Regions from separate parts of the Homo sapiens genome. Here region 1 is linked to region 2. The links are contacts of gene promoters, found by promoter capture Hi-C in blood cells and fetal thymus (Javierre and others, 2016). All regions are on one chromosome and are shown on one strand. The core of a region is centred on a gene start or on the middle of the fragment in contact, and the rest is flanking DNA. Distances in the headings are between cores, read along the strand shown. Region 1 overlaps LL0XNC01-250H12.3 (a long non-coding RNA gene). Region 2 holds the start of TCEAL7 (transcription elongation factor A like 7).

What was found. The method cuts DNA at HindIII sites, captures the fragments that hold promoters and counts their contacts. A CHiCAGO score of 5 or more calls a contact.
Region 1: a contact is called between a fragment that was not itself captured here and the fragment with the promoter of TCEAL7 in region 2, in 1 of 17 cell types (naive CD4 T cells). The highest score is 5.4, in naive CD4 T cells.

The regions. Positions count from the first base shown.
Region 1 is chrX:103,440,032-103,443,791 of GRCh38, reverse strand. The region is part of intron 2 of LL0XNC01-250H12.3 (a long non-coding RNA gene); the gene reads right to left. Among named protein-coding and RNA genes, the nearest start is that of LL0XNC01-250H12.3, 37 kb to the right of the region's middle. RefSeq lists enhancers at 1,983-2,669, 2,670-3,355. The HindIII fragment of the contact is 2,150 bases long and covers 1,305-3,454 here.
Region 2 is chrX:103,328,948-103,332,739 of GRCh38, reverse strand. It overlaps TCEAL7 (transcription elongation factor A like 7), which reads right to left and starts at 2,501. Exons shown (of 3, transcript NM_152278.5): 1 at 2,436-2,501; 2 at 1,700-1,817; 3 at 414-1,363. The coding sequence starts at 1,336. The coding sequence ends at 1,034. RefSeq lists an enhancer at 1,486-1,985. The HindIII fragment of the contact is 8,380 bases long and covers 1-3,792 here.

The sequences.
Region 1 (3,760 bases), core at 1,130-3,629, 110 kb before region 2:
ATTAAAAGCTAGCCTGATTAAATTTTAAAATCTTTTATACTAATGTCTCCCAACAAAATACAGGATGAAAGTACCTGTTTTACTAGGTCTGTGCAAATAATGTATTTCACAACATTATTACTTTTCACTTTTCCCTATCTTATTTCTTTATGAATGGCATATGCCTTAGTTCGTTTGCACTGCTGTAACAAAATACCTGAGACTAGGTAATTTATAATGAACAGAAATGTATTGGGTCACAGTTCTGGAGGCCGGGGAGTTCAAGATCAAGATGTCAGCATCTTGTGAGGGCTTTCTTGCTGTGTCATCACAAGGTGGAAGGCAAGAGGGCAAATGAGAGAGTGAAAGGGGGCCAAACTTGCCCTTGTATAACAAAACTACTCCTGTGATAAGAAATCCACTCCTGTGATAATGGCATTAATCCATTCATGAAGGCAGAACCCTCATGGCCCAATCACTTCTTTTTTTTTTTTTCTTTTTCTTTCTCTTTTTTTTTTTTGTTTTTTAAAGAGACAGGGCCTCACTCTCTCACCCAGGCTGCAATCATAGTTCACTGTATCCTCAAATTTCAAGTGATTCTCTCTCAGCCTCCCAAGCAGATGGGAACACAGGCACACAGCACCATGCCTAGCTAACTAATCACCTCTTAATTATCTCACATCTTAATACAGATTGAGCATCTCAAATCTGAAAATATGAAATCTGAAATCCTCCAATATCAGAAGCAGTTGAGTGCAAATATAACCTGCAGAAATACTCACTGGAGCATTTCAGATTTTGAATTTTTTGATTTGGGATGCTCAACTGGTAAGTATAATGCAAATATTTAAAAATCTGAAAGCTAAAACACTTCTAATCCCAAGCATTTTGAAAAAGTTATACTCAACCATACTGTAACAATGGCAATCAAATTTCAACACGAGTTTTGGCGGGGACAAACATTTAAACCACAGCATCTCATCAATGGCCCCTCAAAACTTATGTCCTTTTCACATACAAAATACGTTCATTCCATCCCAATAGCCCCACAAGTCTTAACTCGTTCCAACATCAACTAAAAAGGCCTAAGTCCAGAGTCTTATTTAACTCAACGGAAGGCATGATTCATGCTGAGGCAAATTCCTCTCCAGATGTGAGCCTGTGAAATCAAAACAAGTTATGTATTTTAAAATACAGTGGTGGAACAGGCAATGGATAGACACTCCCATTCCAAAAAGGAGAAATAGACAAGAAAAGAGGGTCCCACGTAAGTCCAAAATTCAACAGGGTGAACAACATTAAATTTTAATGCTCTAGAATAAGCTTCCTTGACCTCATGTCCCATCTCCTGGACACACTGAGGTGAAATTGGGCCCCCAAGGCCTTAGGCAGCTCTGCCCCTATGTCTTTTCTGGGCTTAGCCCACACAGCAATTCTCATAGGTTGGAGTCTCATGCCTGCAGCTCTCTTAGGCTGGTGTTGCACAGTAGTAGCCCTACAATTCTGGGGTCTCTCAGGCAGTCCACTCCCAAAATTCTACGAGGCATTGTCCCAGTGGGGACTCTCTGCAGTGGCTCTGACCCCACAGTTCTGACTGGAGAGAGCCCTGACTAAGGAAATGCCCAGCAGAACTTCCACATCAAAGCTGAGTTTCCACTGGGCATTGCCCTAGTGAGGGCTCTCTGCTTTTGCTCCACCTCTGCAACAAGTCTCTGCTTGTCCACCAAGGCTTCTGAAACATCTTTTGAAATCTAGGTAGAGGAAGACGTGCCCATACAGCTCTTGCATACGGCACACCTGCAGAGTTAGCATCATGTGGATTCCACCACAGTTTATGACTTGTACCTTCCAGTGTGGCAGGTCGAGCTGCACCTTGGCCCATTTGAGCCATGACTGGGGTAGTCAAGAAATGCTGCACTGGAATATGGGGAGCAGAAAATTGAAGCAGCCCTGGGACGTGAGTCCAAAGGTTCTAAGGTCGTCCTCAGCCTCTCTTTTTGACATATTTCCTTCACCCAGGTCTTGGCACTCAGAGCCTGTGATGGGAAGGGTGGCACTGGTAATCTCTGAAGTGACTTTGGGTTCATTCTCCCATTGTTCTGATGAATAGCCCCTGGCTTCCTTCTATCCACACCAATCTCCTTATGAAACGGTCACTTGGAAACATCCTTGGTTTCCTCTCCTGAAAGTGCTCTTTGATTCTCTACCACCTGACTAGGCTGAGAATCCTTTAAATCTCTAAGTTTTGTTCCCCACCCCACCGCCACTTTTTTTTTTTTTTTTTTGAGATGAAGTCACTCTATTGCCCACGGTGGTGTGCAGTGGTGTGCTCTTGGCTCACTGCAACCTCCGCCTCCTGGGTTCAAGCGATTCTCCTGCCTCAGCCTCCTGAGTAGCGGGGATTACAGGCATGTGCCACCTCACCTGGCTAATTTTTGTAGTTTTAATAGAGATGGGGTTTCGCCATGTTGGCCAGGCTAGTCTCGAACCCCTAATCTCCAGTGATCCACCTGCCTTGGCCTCCCAAATTGCTGGGATTACAGGCGTGAGCTACCGTGCCTGGCTCCCTTTTAATTATAAATTCCATCTTTAAATCATTTTTTTCTCTAGCATTTTACTGTATGCAGTTGAAGGAAGACACACAACATATGGAACGTTTTTTTGTTTAGATGTTTCTTTCACCGATTTCCTAGCTCACTGCTTTTCAACTATGCCGTCCACAAAGCCCTTGTGTGGGCTTGGAAACAATTCAGCCAAGTTCTTTGCCACTTTATAATGAAGATGGCCTTTCCTCCAGTTTATAATACTTTGTTCCTCATTTATATGTGAGACCTCATCAGAATGGCCTTTACTGTCCATATTTCTATGAACATTCTGATCATTACTAGAGGGTCAAAGATTTTACCAAAATATTTGTCAGGGGGAAAGTCAGGAGAGCAAAATCACCAGGTGGCCATCGAGTAAGCCCTGGAGACACAAACTCCTTATCTGAGGAATTTAGAAGTGTAACGAAGAAAGCCAAAAACACCTGGCAACCATCAAACAGGCCATTCTGAGGCAAAATTCCTTATCTGAGGAATTTAGAAGTAATTAAACTTCCCTAGTGCCTAAAGGTTCCAGGCCTCTTTCAAAAATTTTCTAAGTAACTAGAATTTCTGTACATCTCTGGAATCCATGCATGTCAAAACTCATTGTACAACCCTTGCTGACATTAAGGAACCAAAATGTCTACAAATGTAATCACTTATTATGACCTACATGGCTAATATGGTCCAAATTACACTTAAGCTCCCACTTTAAGGTCCGTAAATGCTGCATTTCTTCTGCAACATACTTTTTTTCTAATAAAACTTTCCTTTTTCAAACCTATACTGTTGTCAGTAAATTCTTACCAACCTGCAAGTCAACCACTTTCTGATGCTGGGGCTCTGACACCTCACCCAGCAATTACCACTTAAGTAATCTCTAAGAAGCTTCAGACTTTCCCTACAGTTCTCTTCTTTGAGCCCTCACCTGAATTGTTCCATTTATGGAAATCTAGGCTTTTTTACCCTGCTCCTCCAAAATTTTCCAGCCTCCACCCATTATCCAGTTCCAAAGTTGCATCTACGTTTTCAGGTATTTTTTATAGCAACAGCCAGGCTTCTTGACACCAATTTCCTGTCTTAGTCTGTTTTTGCTGCTATAAGACAATACCTGGGACTGGGTAATTTCTAATTAACAGAATTTTATTGGCTCACAGTTACGGAGGATGAGAAATCAAAGATTGAGGGACCAGCAT
Region 2 (3,792 bases), core at 1,252-3,751:
CAAGAGTCAGAGTTCAACCCACTGACGACTCCAGGGAATTCGGTTGGGTTTTGGCCCTGAATGACTGCAGTGCATCAGCAGCAGTGGGGCCAGCAGAGAGCACAGGGCCCAGCAGAAGAGGCAGCAGTGTTGGGCAGGTGTGGCAGGACCCAGGGGAGGAGACAGGGCTCAATAACAGAGGACTGATAGGGAAGCCCCCACCTCTGCCTACTGGACTTGTTCCGGAGTACAAGTTGAATCATGCCAGGCCCTCTCTGAAGTTATTGGTGTATTCTATAGTGGGTTGGGATTCTGTATGCACAGTGGGGAACAAGATCCCACTGAGCACAGCTGGTTACTGCCTCATTTCCTTCCCACAGCAGCCCTGTGAGGCAAATATTTTCCCTATGAAAAGACTGAGTCTTAAACGTGTGTATCTGTAATAATTACCAGTTTATTACTCTGGCTAAGAGATCCAGAGGTAATTGGAGGTTTACATTTCATTTTTACGCTTCTGTTATTGAGAGTTTATTAAGTGTTTCATTGCCTTCCAAAGGCGATTGACAAGTTCTTTTACTGTCTACTTTAGGGTTTTTTGTGACACAAGTAATATACACACATAAACATATATTCATTTTTTGGCAAGTGAGAAGATGCAGATAGGCAAAAAGAAAAAAAAAGAGATCACACAGAGATTCACTGTTAACCTTTGGTGTATAATAAAATCAGACACTTTCCTTTGCATTATGTCACATAGAAATGTACAAATAAAGTGTACATATATACACACATATATGTATACACTGTTTTGCAACTCGTTATTTTCACTTTGCAATATACAATGAGCATTTTTCCATGCAAATGAATGAGACCTCTTATTAAATGAATAAGATTGGGTCAAAAGATGAGATGTTGACAAGAGTCATATGTAAATCTCAGCAACATCGAATGACTGGAGTAAAACGATAGCAAATATTTATCAAGAAAGTGCAGACAAACAGAAAGCAGTGGCAACATTAATAACAGAAAATAATTGAATTGTCAGAGAAATTAATTAAATGGGATAAGGACGGTCCCGAGAATGCCTATGGTTAGAATGCAGAGCCCTAAATTTCTTTCTCAGACCCCTTATCTCTTCCAAACACCTTTCCATCTCATCTCCCTCCCTTGTCATTTCTTCATCTTTAAAATGCCTATAGTCTATGTCCTCTTTAAATTCTTCGAGAGACTGAAGCAGCCTCTGTCTAAAATTCCCTTCTGTTTGCTGGCGTTCAAATTCTCCATACGGGCGTTTTTCCTCCCTCTTTGGCACGCTGCACTTTGGCTTTCCTTCGTTTTCTTTGCAGGGTTTTTGCATGATGTTGTTGTTGTTTCCTGCTTAACTCTAGGGAGAAAATGTAAAGACAAATTGCTTCATTACTTTTGAATCACGATTGTCAGTTTCTCTCTGAGGCAAGATACTTTCCCATCTCTGCCCCACAGGTCCAGACCTCATAAGTCTGCGGCAGTTCCCTCCACCCTCTCATCTCCCCCTTTTCTCCCCTCCCACCTCAGGAACCCACCGTTTCCCCAGCAGACAAAGCTAATGGCCTCTCCAATAGGCAGGAGAGGCGGAGCAGAAAAGGAGATGGACTGCGAAGCCGCAAATTTCGCCTAGCTTTTGCCCCTTCCCGACTCCTATCCTCAGAGATCTCAGTCTAAGTGCCTCTCTCATACTGACCTGTGCGGGGTAGTTTCCTGCTCCTTTTCTTCCCCCAGATGTCTGTGAACACAGATCCTGGGACCTCCAAACAAAAAGGAAGGGGCGGGGAGGAAGGAGCTATCTGTGGATCAACCAGCTCCAGAGACAAGACAGACGTTATTATTTTGAACCTGGGATTCTCATCATCACCGTCATCGCCCCCCGGATTTCTACCTCCTGGCCCCTCCTTCCTGTCTGTATCCTTTCCTTCAGGATTTCCGTTTCCACTCCCCACTCCTCACCCTCAGGCCTGGGCCTTGCAAGGCCCGCGTCTCCCTCCTTCGCCCCGTCCCGCGCCCCACCCCACCACCACAGGCCGGCATTGAGTGAGGTGAACTATTTTCAAATGATCTCTAAATTTCTGTTGTCTCCATCCCGGGATTTCAGCCTTTCTCCACACACCAACACATACCCCAGGCCTAAAATTTTCTCTTAACAAAATTGGAGAAAGATGAGGAGAAGGATAAAAAGAAAGCATGCCAGGGTGAGAGAAGCCGATTATTTCAAAGCTGTCACTAAATCTCTAGGTGTCTCTCAAAAGATTTCGACCTACCCCCTTGCTTCCCCCTGCAAAAGATACAATTATCTCCGACGATTTTGCAGCGGTTTTGGGAAAGCAAGTCTGGACCTATTCCAGTCATTAGATTCACCCACTACTGACCCCGGGGGTCCAGTGGTTCCTTCACTCCAACCTGCTGGGATTTAAGGAATTTACCTCTTCCTTCCCTTGGCCACAAGCACGCACGGCACGCTTGTCTGCAGGGCAGTAAGGAGCTGGTACCCAGAGGAGAAAGAAGCCCGGGAATATAAGGACTTCGGTTCACGTCAGCTCCTGATCACGTGAGGATTATGTCATCCCCCATCTCTGGTCCCCACTTTCCCCTCCCACCAGCAGCGCTGCAGAAGTGGACCGGCTTACCAACCTCCCACCCCACACCACACCAGGCCCTGTCACTCATTTTTGTCTTTGCTAATTCCAGAGGTCAAAAGTGGCGCCTTCTCCCTGTGGTCAGAATTTGCCTTTCTCTGATTACCAGGGAGGGGCTGCATTTTCCCAAAGTTATATTAACCATTGTTACTTTTTTTGTGGTTGTGCTGAGAGGGAGGATTACTTATCCTTTTCTAAGCTACAAGAAAAGAAAAGTGGCAGTCTCCTCCATCCAATCGCCTCTCAGCCACTAATAGCCATCATTTCCCTTGGAGTCCAATCCTTGAAACCAGATTGGAGGGAATGGGGTGAATTAGGAAAGGAGGTAATGATTTGGATTGTGCTTCTTACTTTTGTTTTGATAATTTCTTATTCTTTTCCAATTTTTCCATAAACTTATTATATACTTTTAATAATCAGAAATATGATAAAGATATGTACATTTGGAAAAAGATTCCAGATAGGAGGATAAAAAGGCCAGCCACCTGTTTCTGCTGCTGAAGTCATAATATAAATATAGACCCTTTAGGCAGACATATTTTTTGAAGTTTAAGATGTACAGGTCAGTTGGAACCTACTCTTTTGAGGGGCTCCCGGGCATGTGAGGTCCTTCCATTAGGTGAGTCACTGAGACCATAATCCTACAGCACCTTGCCCTTAGATTTCCAGATCGCAACTGTAAGTCACAAATTTTAACTAGTTTGAGCTCAGTATCATGCCCTCTTTCTTCCAGTTTATACCATACACATAACCCTTTTTTCTTCAATACTGTACCCCTAATATCCCAACTTTTTTCAACACTCTCATTCAGAAAAGAATAGTTTTTCATTTTCCCTAGACATCTCCATCCTATTTATGTTTTCCATGACCTTATTTAGCCATACTGATGTATTGAAAGCTACTTGTAGTACTAACAAAAATTAGTCACATTTAGCCACCCAACACACTAAACTTTTTGTTGCTAAGGATTTGGGTACTTGTCTAAGTAGATTTGCTCTTGATTTGTTAGCTTGAAATATATGCAATAGAAAGGGAGATGTGTAAACTTCTCATAAGTTGTTTTTAGGAAGATTGCAGCTCATTATGAATATAAAGTTACCACTAATCAGTTTGATATAAATGACTCCAGAAAAAAGTTCAGTGG